Linked DNA regions of Homo sapiens: region 1 is linked to region 2. Evidence: promoter capture Hi-C in 16 types of primary human blood cells and fetal thymus (Javierre and others, 2016). All regions are on one chromosome and are shown on one strand. The core of a region is centred on a gene start or on the middle of the fragment in contact, and the rest is flanking DNA. Distances in the headings are between cores, read along the strand shown.

Region 1 (6,656 bases), core at 2,047-4,546, 180 kb before region 2:
CCTCTCTCCAACTTTCTCTCCCCACCGCTGGCTCCACCACTCTCCTTATCAACCTTCCATTCTCTTGTCCCTTCCCTCCTTGTCCTTCCCTCCACTTTTCTCCTCATCTCTCCCTTCGCCTCTCTCCCATGTCCCTCCATATTTCTGTCACTTCCGTTGCTTTACCCAGATAGGTGCTCATCTCTTCTCCCATCTTTCTCTTCCCATCTCAATTTTCTATCTACTCTTTACCCATTCAACTCGCCTATTTCACCTTCATCCCATATCCTATCCAGGTCGGATACCTTAGACCTTCTCTTTCTTCTCCCCAGTGAATTACCCCAAAACTCTACAATGTGCCAACATCCAACTTCGCTCAGATGAGGAGTGTCGTCAAGTCTACCCAGGAAAGATCACTGACAACATGTTGTGTGCCGGCACAAAAGAGGGTGGCAAAGACTCCTGTGAGGTGAGGCCGGGAGGCTGGTGGGTGCCTTGGACAGGATAGAAAGCCAGAATGGAAGTGACAGATGCTGGGGAAAAAGCTTTGTTTCCAGCCTTAGGGGAACCAATCTTTATAAGATACAATGTCCCCTCACATAGGAGGTCAAGACAAAAAGGGGTACCCAGGGATGGCAGGAATAATTCATCATAAGCCCCAGCTTTGACTGAGTGGCTGCCAAGATCCCTGTGTTGAGATGCATAAAGGTTGGTATTCTTTCACTTGTGAGTGATAGACAACCAACTCAAACTGGCTTAAACAAAATGCAGGCTTTTGTAACTGAAAATCCAGGTTGTCTGGCTTTAGGCACAGATGGATCCAGGTATGCAAATTGTGTGTTTGGAATTCTGTCTTTCTTTTAACTCTCAGCTCTTCTTTATTCTGTTTTGGCTTCATTCTCGGTTAGATTCTTCCCATGACAAGATGGCCCCAGCAGCTTTGAGCTTACATCCTACCCTCTAGGCAACCCTATTAGAAAGAGAACCTCTCTTTTCCAATAGTTCACACAAAAGTCTTAAGCATGATTCTCACTAGGCTGACCTAAGTCATGTGTCTTGAGCCATCACTCCACCAGAGCTGTGGGATTCTCTGATGGGCCAAGCCTGAGTCACATAGTTAACTGTGGGTGCTGGAGAGGGGCAGGGACAAACTGCATGGATTGGAAGTGGAGAAGGGCAGTTCCCCAAATGAAAAAATCAGGAGAGGCTGTTACCAAAATAAGGGGAAATGGCCAAGTACAGTAGTTCATGCCTGTAATCCCAGCACTTTGGGAGGCTGAGGTGAGAGGATTACTTGAGCCCAGGAGTTTGAGACCAGCCTGGGCAACATAGTGAGACTCTGTCTCTACAAAAAGAAAAAAAAGTTTTTAAATTAGCCAGGTGTGGTGGAGTACAACTGCAGTCCTAGTTACTCGGGAGGCTGAGGCAGAAGGACTATTTGAACCCAGGAGTTCAAGGCTGCAGTGAGGTATGATCATGCCACTGCACTCCAGCCTGGGTGATAGAGCAAGGCCCTGTCTCTAAAACAAAAAGAAATAAATAGAGCAAGACACTGTCTCTAATAAATAAATAAATAAAAATTTAAAAATGAATGTTTAATTTTTTAAAAATAAGAGGAAATGGATACTACATGAGCAAAAAATAGCCTTCATCAATAAAGAAGTTGAGATTGGATTCAGTGAGAAAGAGTATGATACTATATTAATGATATGTGCCTTGATCGATTAGTGATGTCTGCCTTGGGCCCAGGAAGAGAAATAGACTTACACGTGTGTTGCATACCCTGCCCAGATATGAATGGGTTCACTCAATAGTGAGAGACACAAATGAGCCTTAAATAGGAGCAGGGTCAGCTGGTGTGGGGCAGGGGGTGATTTAGTACCAGGGAAACAAAAATGGGTATGAAGTAAGTTGTTACCATTTTAATGAAACTGAGGAACAGAGAAAAACACAGAAATTTCTCTGTGTCTCTCTTTCTCTGGGCCTATCTCTGTCTTTCTGTCCCTATTTCTGTCTCTTGCTGTCTGTCCCTCTGTGTTTGTCTTCTTGTCTGTTTCTCACTGTCTTCATTGCTTTCTCTCACACTGTGTGTGTCTGACTCTGCCTCTCTGAGTCTCCTTCTCTGTGTGTGTCTCTCTCCATCTTTCACTCTCTCCCCACACCTCCCTGTCCCTGCCTTGTTTAGCCCCAGCAAGGACCCACCTCTCTCTCTCTTTCTTTCCCCAACTCAGGGTGACTCTGGGGGCCCCCTGGTCTGTAACAGAACACTGTATGGCATCGTCTCCTGGGGAGACTTCCCATGTGGGCAACCTGACCGGCCTGGTGTCTACACCCGTGTCTCAAGATACGTCCTGTGGATCCGTGAAACAATCCGAAAATATGAAACCCAGCAGCAAAAATGGTTGAAGGGCCCACAATAAAAGTTGAGAAATGTACCGGCTTCCATCCTGTCACCATGACTTCCTCACATGGTCTGCTTAGCCCTTCTCTGCTCCTTATTCCCAGTGTTCCATTTGAACCAGTGATCCATGTCCTGAAAAATGCTCAATCTCAGCTAACATTCCATGTTTCAGAAGCATTCAGGCACTGCCAGGCTTGCAGTCTCCCAGATGTTGCATCCCTGAAACATCTCAACAACCTGAATGTCCCAACCCAGACAATGGCCCAGGTCTCTCAACTTCATCAGTGTGGCTTCTATGAGCCCAGATCACCACCTGAACGTTCTGTCTGTGGCACATTCTTAAATATTTCCATCAGCCCATCTCAACAATATATGTCCTATAAATGGACCATCCTTGACAACATCCTCTAACTCTTCAAGTATTTATTCAATGCCAGTATCCTAGACCTTCTATTTTTTGCACTCAAGAAGGCTCTAGACTCCCATGATAGTTCATCCTGAAAATATTCTCTTATGCCCACAATCTTCTGCCCTGACAACATTCTGTGTACCTCTGTGACTCACCACAGCTAACATTGGATCCTCAGAATATTTCATTCTCACACTGTTATGGGTGTCTCAGAAGTCCCAACCCAACCTACATCCCACATTCTTCCAATACCCCACCTCTGCCAACATTCCCTCTCTGAATCAATGGCACCCTAGTCTCTAGAGTTATAGGGTTCAGTATACCAAAGGGTCTTCTTGCCTGAACTTTATTGTCTACCAAATATTCCGTCTTGTATCCCCTCCATGAACATCCTTGGTCAGTGTCCCTTGCTGTTACATCTTTGTGCATGACCCTAAAATGTAGTGCAAATCCTTGCTTTGGACAAGTTATAAAACTCACAGTCTCTGTGCTTTCTCATCTGTAAAATGGGTTCATAATTTTTTTTAATTGTAACATTATTACAAGAATAAATGTCAAGCATTTATCACTATTATTATTTGCATGGTTCCCATAAAATATTACCTTAGAATGTTAATAACAGCCCTTCGAATTTGCAGAGTGTCCAAAAAAAGTGTTGCACTGATTTATTTTCCTCAGGAGACATTTCTTCAGTGTTGACTATGTGCAAGCACTCTCCTGGGTGTTGTTAAATATAGTTTATTTACTCAACAAATATTTGTACCTATCAAGAGCCAGGCACTGTTGCAGAGACAAGTGATAACCAATGAGTTAAACAGATAAAAACTTCTGCCCTTGTAGAACTTACATTCTTTTCAAGAAGTCTCCATAACAATGAATAAAGAAATAGGCTGTCAGGTGGTGCTGCAAGCCATAGCAAGAAATGAAACAAGGGCCATATGTGGTAGCTCATGCCTGTAATACCAACACTGGGAGGCCAAGGTGGGAGGATCGCTTGACACCAGGAGTTCAAGACCAGCCTGGACAACATAGCAAGATCCCATCTCTACAAAAAAGTTTAAAAAATTAGCTGGACATGGTGGCACAAGTCTGTAGTCCCAGCTAATCAGAAGGCTGAGGCAGGATGATTGCATGAGCCCAGGAGTTTGAGGCTGCAGTGAGCTGTGATTGTGCCAGTACACTCAAGCCTGGGTGACAGAGCAAGACCCTGTGAAGAAGAAGGAGAAGGAGAAGGGGAAGGGGAAGGGGAAGGAGAGCAAGAGGAAGAGGAAGAGGTAGAAGAAAGGATTAAGAATTGGGAATGTAGGGTTGTATATGTGGAAGGGGTGGCATTGCAATTTAAACAGCATGGTCAGGGAAGAGGACCTAACTGAGATGGTAACATTTAAAGAAAGACCGAAAGGATGAAGGGAAGGAGCAAAGCACATATCTGAGGAGCAGCTGCTGGAGCAGGGGATACAGCTAGTGCAAAGGCCCTGAGGCAGGAGCCTGTTTGGTGTGTCTGAAGATCAGTGAAAAGGTTGGTGTGGCTGGAGCTGAGTGAGCAAGGAGGAGAGGGTGGGAGGTGAGGGCAGAGAATGAACGGAGCAGACTGCATTGGGTCCTGTGGGGCACGACGAGGACTTTGTTTTCCTCTGAGGGAGCCAGGAGCTATGAGAGGGCTCTGAGCAGAGGAGGGACTTGAACTGATTTCAATGTGCGCAGGATTCCTCTGGCTACTCCATGGGGAACAGACTCAGGGGGCCCAGCGAGGAAGGGACTGCATTAGCCCAGGCAAAAGGTGACGGTTCCTGGACCAAGGTGATGGCCGTAGAGGAGGCGAGAGGTCAGATTCTGGATCTGTTTGATGGGACTGTTGGACCATATCTGCCAACATCAGATGGGGGAATGTGAGAAAAAGAGAAGAGTCGAAGATGACTCCAGCAATTTGGCCTGAGCAACAGGAAGGATGGAGCTTTCATTTACAAAAATGCGAGAAACTGAGAGGAACATGTTTTAGGGCAGAGATGAGGAAATTTTGTCTTGAACTGTTTATTAGACACTCAAGTGGAAATAAACTGTTCTCTGAGAATTTATAGAAAATAAACAACTATGGCCAGGCATGGAGGCTCACACCTGTAGTCCCAGCACTTTGGGAAGCTGAGGCGGGCGGATCACTTGGGGTCAGGAGTCAACACCAGCCTGGCCAACATGGTGAAACCCCGTCTCTACTAAAAATACAAAAATTAGCTGGTGGTGGCAGGCGCCTGTAATCCCAGCTACTCAGAGGCTGAAGCAGGAGAATCACTTGAACCCGGGAGGCGGAGGCTGCAGTGAGCCAAGATTGCGCCACTGCATTCTAGCCTGGGTGACAAACTGAAACCCTGTCTCAAAAAGAAAGAAAAGAAACAACTACACAAACTAAATAACTGCAGATTGTGATGATTTCTGTGTGATGATAATAACAAATGCAATCATTTCCATGAAGGATATAAGCAAGGATTTGTGTTAGAGAATAAAGGAGGAGGCTGTTTTGAATAGGGTGATCAAGAAGGGCTTCTCGGAGAAGGTGGCATGTGGCCAAAGGGTTAAAGGGAGCCAGTTTAGCAAAGAATGGGGGAAATACCTCTGAAAAAGGAAACCACTGGGCCAACGTCCTTGAGTTTAGCCTATTCCAGGATCTGAGGGCAGGCCAGCATGACTGTACAGTAATGATGAACGAGTGACTGGGTAGGGAATGAGACTGGAGGATTTGGCTGGAGCCAAATATTCGGAATCTTTTTAGCTGTAGTCAGGGAGGTGGTCTTTCTCCCATTGTAGTGGGGGAGCTCCTGGAGAGTGTCAACAGGGGAGGAATATCTGAAATCGGATTATCACTCTGGTTGCTGGGTTACTGGTGGAGACAAGGTACCAGGAGGGAGTATTGGAAGCCAGGAGATGAACCTGAAGCCTACTGCAGTAATCAGTGGGTAAGATGATGGCTCAGCCAACAGAGATGAAGATGGATTAGAATGAGCGTTTTGCAGTCACACTGAGGAAACTCGGCAATACAATCAATCGTATTATTCACAGTAGTTACTTACGTTCTATAAAGTCACCTCTAACACTGAATTAGCAACTATTAAAGCATTGCTTCTAGGGGGGAAATATAGGTTCCTTCGAGCCTCTGGTCACAATCTTTTTGTCACCTGATCAATATATAACCTTGTTTTAGGTGTGTTTCTCTTTAAAGACAGCTTAATATACATGCATTGAACTCACAGCCGATGGCGATGTAACTCATGCCTGAATGAAGCTTCTCTAACATGTGTATTTTCTTTTTAAATTTTTCAAAATTTATTTTATTCATTTTATTTTTTTGAGACAGGATCTTGCTCTGTTGCCCATGCTGGAGTACAGTGGTGCAATCGTAGCTCAGTGCAGCTCTGAACTCCTAGGCTCAAGTGATCCTCCCGCCTTAGCTCCTGAGTTGCTGGGACTACAGGCGTATACCACCATGCCCAGCTAATTTTCTTTTTTATTTTTGTAGAGATGGGGTCTCACTCTCTTGCCCAGACTGGTCTCAAACTCCTGGACTCAAGTGATCCTCCCACCTTGGCCTCCCAGTGTATTGGGATTACAGGCATGAGCCACTGCACCCAGCTTTGTGTGTTTTCCCATAAGGTACATCACAGCCTTCCTGCACTTAGGATGCTAGACGCACTTTACCACTGTCCTGAGGGGGCATTTTAAACAGCGAAATCAACAAAAATGTGCAAAACGTGGCACTAACTAGACCACAAAAAGGACACTTGTTTACAGAATGAGAGCTGAAATAAGGGACAGCATCGCCTTAATCGACCTCAGCTGGGAGCATGCACCTCAGGCAATTCAAATTGTTCACCACTC
Region 2 (6,309 bases), core at 791-3,290:
CCTCCTCAATTGTGCACCCAGCTACAGCTGAAACCAGCCCTCCCTGTGTCTCCCCAGGGTGGAGGGATGTCCTGCAGAGAGTGCTGTGCAATGACAGGCACCCCCTCACATGCACACACATTGAGCTTAAAGTCCTTCCTTTTTCTGGGTGCTCCCCACCCACCCTCACGGGGTGTGTTCAGTAGTGATGAGGAAGGGCTGAGGCAGAGACCCAGAGAGAAAGACAGGCAAAGAGATGCAGGGTGAGACACACGGTGACAGAGATGGCCACAGAGAGACCCAGAGACAGAGACGGGGGAGACACAGACACAGGGAGACAGAAAAGAGAGAGGGACATAGAGACCAAAACACAGTCATACAGACACAACCAGAGCCAGATACCAAGAGACACAGCGAGATCAGACACAGAGAGAAACCCAGGCAGCCATGGGGAGAGTGGTCCAGCCCCAGCTCTGCCTCCGGGTGCGACCTGGGCCAGGACCTTCCCTCTCTCCTTTAGTCTGAAGCCTCACCTGAGAAGTGACCCTGGGGGAAGCATCCCGCTGTTATTCCTGTGGGACACAGCCATTCCCTCCCCAGATCCCAGGGTCCTACTTACTTCTTTAGGCAATGGGCAGCTGTGAGCACCCACTGGGGGTGCACCAGGACACCCCCACAGTGTGCCCATCCATGACTGTACACAGCCACCTGCCAGGGTTGGGAATGCTTCTCACACTCCCAGCCTCCCACAATCCGAGACTGGATGAGGGGCACGGCACCTGCGGAGGGGGTGCTGGGTCAGGGGGATCAGACCCAAAAGAATTGGATAGGGGAGGGAGCTGAGCTGTGGGTTTGAAGAGACATGGGGGCAGAGGACCAGGACTGGGAGTCCAGGACACAAGCAAGGGGTCCTGGGAGGGCTGGCAATTCTGTAGCTATTCCCTGCGTTAGCGGGTTGGTGGCTGGACCAGGTCGGGAGGCTTCATGCTCTGAGAACGGAGCTGACCCCAGAGATCAGAGTAGGGGACATGGGAAACATCTGAAGCAGGCATCGGGTTGGGGGTTGGGTCATTTGGAGTGATTTGGGGTCTTACACTGGGAGAAGGGACACTGTGGTGGCAGCTGTGGGTTCTAAGAGAATAAGAGGTTCCAGAAACCAAGGATAAGTGCCCAGTGGAGAGGTTTAGTTGCTGGGAGAGGAAGGTTTTGGATGGTTTACCATGTCCAAGGTTAAGCAAACAGTTCTGCCTGAGTTGTTTCTTGCTTTGTTTTGTTTTGTTTTGTTTTTGAGGTTTTGAAAAGGGTGCGGATTTAGGGAATCAGAGAACTGGCCGTTGTGGTTGGGGGTGCTCGTGTTTTTCCCATGGAAAAAGCTAGCCATTGAATGACGGGTCTGGGGCAAAGAGTCAGGGAAGGAGGAGTTCTGAAAGTCCCAGTGCCAGACTCAGGGTGGGAGGCAGCATTTGTTGTCTCAGGCCAGATAGCCTCGGGGGGAAGAAGGAAGTGTCTGGTGGAATCTGGGTTTCCTGGGACAGGGTTGGGGAGCCAGGTGTCAAGGTCCAGGGGACAGGGTTGAATGCTCACAGCTGAATAGGAAAAGTCAGTAGACTGTGGTAGGACTGAGGGGCTCAGGAGGCAGCCCAGTGATAGGGTCCAAGGAACCAGTGGCATGGAGAGAGGTCCTTGAAAGGTTTTGAACCCCATAAAGAGAAACACAGAGATGCCCAGGAACTTGCTCTTTAGTAAAGCAGCTGGGAGCAGGGATTTGGCTGGGCAATGGAGAGAAAGGTCTGAGGTAAGTGGGAGGGAGCGGGGACCTAGTGTGGGCATGAGGACTATTGCAATGTGGAAGAGTCAGGGGCACATTGTCTGGGCTGAACTGTGGGCTGAAGGGACGAGGCTGGGGCACTGGGTGGGAGGAAAAGGGCTTCAGCATAAGAGTCAGAACCCGCCCCCCTTCCTTTATCCCCCCAATCTCACCAGTGCACCCCACAGACAAGGCGATGGAGAGAACCAGGTCCCACATGCTGACACAGGTGTCCACGGCCAGGTGGTGAGTTTGGGGCTGGGGGGCCTCCCTGAGGAGCCCTATAAAGCCTTCATTCTCCAGGACCCCGCCCTTGCCCTGTTGGCACCTAGATGCTGACCAAGGCCCTCCCCATGCTGCTGGAGGCTGGACAACCCCCTCCCACACCCAGAGCTGTGGAAGGGGAGGGAGAGCCAGCACTTGCTGTTCCACACATACTAGATCAGTCTGGAGGCATTCCCACGGTGTGAGGTCAGATTGGGCAGGGCCTATGGATCATGGAGATGTGATCTAGGGAACAAAGCCAGAGAAGGCAGGCTCAGGATGAACAGCAACAGGGGTTGGGATGATCACTGATTCTTTTTTAAAAAAATTCTGAGACAGTCTCACTCTGTTTCCCAGGCTGGAGTGCAGCGGCGTGATCGCAGCTCCCTGTAGCCTTGAACTCCCAGACTCAACCGATTCTCCTGTCTCAGCCTCCAGGATAGCTGAGACCACAAGCATGCACCACCACATCCAGCTAATTTTTAATTTTTTTGTAGAGAGAGGGTCTGGCTATGTTGCCTAGGCTGGTCTCCAACTCCTGGGCTCAAGCCATCCTCCCACTTCGGTCTCCCAAAGTGATGAGATTACAGGCGTGAGCCACCACGGCCAGCCCCAATCATTGATTTTCAATACAAAGTCTCATGTGCCTAAGTCCCAAGTACTTCCTTTGCACCCCAAACCTAATATGCCCTGAAATATCAGAATGATCGGATTGTGAGACTTCCTGGTCCCTATACCCGTCTGAGCCCAGAAGCTGGACCTCCAACTTACCATGTTCCTGAAATAGAAGCGTTGGCATTCAGTACTCTCTGATTCTTGCACTTCCACACTCAGAAAATGGTTCCCCACATACATTTCTCCCTCATCATAAAACCTTGTGATACCACATATTGTCCAATCCAGAAATATGACTCTCCCAGACCAAGTTCCCTATTATTTCAAAATCCAATGTCCACTAAACAATATGGGGTTCCGGTGGCTCCTCACTCCTCATTCTCCATGCCTGTACAACGTACAGGTACAGCGGGGATTCCTGTTGACCTGCCCTCCTAGGTCAGAATTGTCCTCATGCAAAATCCAATGCCTCCTTCTCACTGAAATGTCTAGCTATCAGGAGCCAGGTTTATACACTCCAAGATTAAGCTGCAAGCCAGGCACGGTGAGTGGCTCATGCCAGCAATCCCAGTGCTTTGGGAGTCCAAGGCTGAAGAATCACTTGAAGTCAGAAGTTCAAGATCAGCCAGGGCAACAAAGTGAGACCCTTTCTCTACAAAAAAAAAAAAAAAATTTAATTAGCCAGGTGTGGTGGCAAGCACCTGTAGCCCCATCTACTCAGGAGGCTGAAGCAGGAGGATCCCTTAAGTCCAGGAGGTCAAGGGTTCAGTGAGCTATGATCACACCACTGCGCTCCAGCCTGAGTGACAGAGCAAAAGACCCAGACTGTGTCTCAAAAAAAAAAAAAAAAAAAAAAAGAATTAGGGTGGCATTGAGAAATCTCATTTTGGTGTCTCAGAAAAGAATCAAGAATAAGAGTCCTGGTGTTAACTCTTATTATAAGAGTCCACTGTTAACTCTATAAGATTTCTTTGATTTTGAAAAAAAAAATGTGATTTCATCTGTTCAATAAAACCAGAGCAGCTTACGCTGATCCAGACCCAGCTGTGTCTCAAGAATTTGACAAAATCTTCCCCCATTTCCAGCTGAATGACCAGATCAATTCCAAGTACAGTGAAGGAGACAGAAGTGGACATAGATAATCACAATTCAAGACCAGGATAGAGGGATATTCACAGCCAGTGGCCTGATTTCCCCCACACAACCACTCGTTCCCTGGAATGACCGTCTGAAAGGAAATTTGCCTCAGCTTGAATGAGAACCACCTGAATCCAGTGTCCCAAGCATATCCTCATCCCCATGATAACCTCAACCAAAACCTGACCCAAACCAATTTAACACAGCCCAATCCAACCACATCACCCACAAGCCCAACCCATCAACCCAACACAACTTAATCTAATTCAAGACAACCCTAATAGCCTCCTTCATTTAAAGATCAAACCAAACTAATGCACATCCTCGCATGCAATAGCCAGCTCCATGTATTCTATCTCCAAAACTAAACCTACTTCATCCCCAATTCAATCCCCACACCCTTCCCAGCCAACATAAAAACAAACCTATTTCCATCCCAAAGCCATGCCATCCCAAACCACCTTTAAATTGCCAATCCCCAAACTCATCCGAAGCAGAATTTTACCCCATCTGTAACTCAACTCCAACCTGACCCTCCATTCTAACTGGTCTTCATACTCCGTTTTCAATGCTATATCCAGCACTTTATCTGGCCAAAGGAGATCAAACACAACCACATCCCACTTCTCGAGCCAGTCCACAGCCTCCTCCCCACCCGTCATGGCCCCCTCTGGGCTCTGACCACACAGGAGTCCGTGCCTTCACCCGCTCTTCCTGCACACACCATGGTGTTCATCAGGGCCCTGGGTAGTCCCTGTTACAAGATGTGGTACAGATGAAGCTGATGCTGGCACAGTGCCTCGTATCTGGGAGACTCACTTGGGAGGACAGTGGAGTGGGGCAAACCCGTAAGTTCAGGCTCCTGTGCCCTCCACCCAGAAGTCCTTGAGATTTCATGGACAGCGACATATGGCCATTCTCTAGCACCTTTCAGTCCTGGTTTCCTGTGGTTCTAGGATCTTTATCGGACACCAGGCCCCGGCCTGGCACCACGCAGGCCACATCCACCAGGGGACGCACGTCCACAGCTCCATGGTTGGGACGTGACGGGAGAGGCGCGCTGCAGGGATAGTCGCAGCTACATGACGTCATGGCGCCGGCCTCGCCCGCATAGTGCAGATGCTGAATGATGAGTGGATGATGCCCCAGGCCTCGGGACATGGCACATGTGCAGATTATACTCGCGCAGGCGCACTCTTGTGGAACTAGAAGAGTAGGTGATTACCCTCAAGTGGAGTAAGGAGTAGATGGAAAGATCAAAGCATGGGCAACTCTCAGTCCTCTGACCCTTTGAGAATCAGGAGATTCCATTACCTTCACACCAAACCCTGGAGCCAATGGTTCCAGTCCTTGCTTCCCAGGGACCCACCAAGGAGTCTCAAGCTAACAAACCCCTGCAACTCAACCCCTCACAATTTCAGCCCCTTCTTCCCGAGGATACGGGATTCTTAGACCTCTCAGGCCATTCCCACGTCAGTACCTCGGAAGCTGGGACCTTACCAGTCTCCTCCCTTGGGGATTTAAGAGTTCAGAACCCACATTCCTCCTCTCCAAGGACATTCACCTCCAGCCTCTTCCTCCTTCGGAACCAAGGAGTATGGGCCCCCTCTGCACTCAAGCCCAGAAGTTCTGATCCCCACCCATGTCCCCTCGAAATTCTGAGCACTCCCTTATTCTGGGGTTGGCAGTGGGGCACTGCCAAACATGGTGGGGAACTGGACCTAGAAATCTTGGTTAGGCACAGTGAAGCCAGATGTGGTAGACACACTAATGATGGGATGTTAAGACTGTCCTGCAGACAAGAGTGGAAGGCTCTGGGTGAACAGTGTTGGGAGACAATTTTCCATGGTTCTCTTATGTTTCTGTGTGTCTTCTGAGCAAAGGCAATAATACCGTTTTCTTTTCTGGACCATCTTTTCAAGCATATTTGTACAGCAGATAGCCTTGCAAGATGGTATCGCCTTCAGATCTAGGTTTGCTTACTGCCTTAGATAATAAAGTTAACGTCTATTTTACAGCAGATTTGTTTACTGTTCAGGACAATAAATACAATATGTTCCTCCAGAGTAGGTCTGCTTTCAACCCAATTATAAAGATAATATCTCCGTCAGATACAAAGACTGGACAAGTTTGCTGGTACCTTCTTATAAGATTGAGGATTTCTAAGCCTAGGTTGCTCACCTTTGCCACAAACCCCTGTGTCCATCCACCTGAACTGCTCTGATCATCCCATATGAATTGGGGGGCAAAGTGAACAAATGTGAACACAAAGTTCATGCTGCCTCCTTAGCTGTGGGTAATAAAATCTTTTGCCTCTGACCCAGGAGTCTCATGAGTTCTACCAGCACAAAACTGGCAGGTTAGCTTATGTGTTTGCAAGTCGGTAAAATGTCAGCTCTTTCAGAGTTCTTTTTTTTTTCTCCCCTGTAGGATACACATTTATAGTTCTCTGCAAAGAGTTAGGTACTGTGGCTACACCTGGCCAGCTGGAGATGGAGCTGGGAAGA

What was found. Contacts are between HindIII fragments. The CHiCAGO score rates a contact against its expected background, and 5 or more counts as called.
Region 1: a contact is called between a fragment that was not itself captured here and the fragment with the promoter of KLK2 in region 2, in 1 of 17 cell types (M2 macrophages). The highest score is 5.4, in M2 macrophages.

Annotation. Positions count from the first base shown.
Region 1 is chr19:51,052,330-51,058,985 of GRCh38, reverse strand. It overlaps KLK13 (kallikrein related peptidase 13), which reads left to right. Exons shown (of 5, transcript NM_015596.3): 4 at 312-448; 5 at 2,211-3,360. The coding sequence ends at 2,399. Among named protein-coding and RNA genes, the nearest start is that of KLK13, 9.4 kb to the left of the region's middle. The HindIII fragment of the contact is 5,539 bases long and covers 527-6,065 here.
Region 2 is chr19:50,869,170-50,875,478 of GRCh38, reverse strand. KLK2 (kallikrein related peptidase 2) reads right to left here and starts at 2,040. Exons shown (of 5, transcript NM_005551.5): 1 at 1,960-2,040; 2 at 599-758. The coding sequence starts at 2,005. RefSeq lists cis regulatory regions at 2,202-2,216, 5,844-5,866, enhancers at 2,202-2,216, 4,692-4,986, 5,844-5,866, 5,627-6,213, 5,595-6,309 and 2 more and promoters at 2,015-2,368, 2,015-2,640, 2,015-6,309. The HindIII fragment of the contact is 10,018 bases long and covers 1-6,309 here.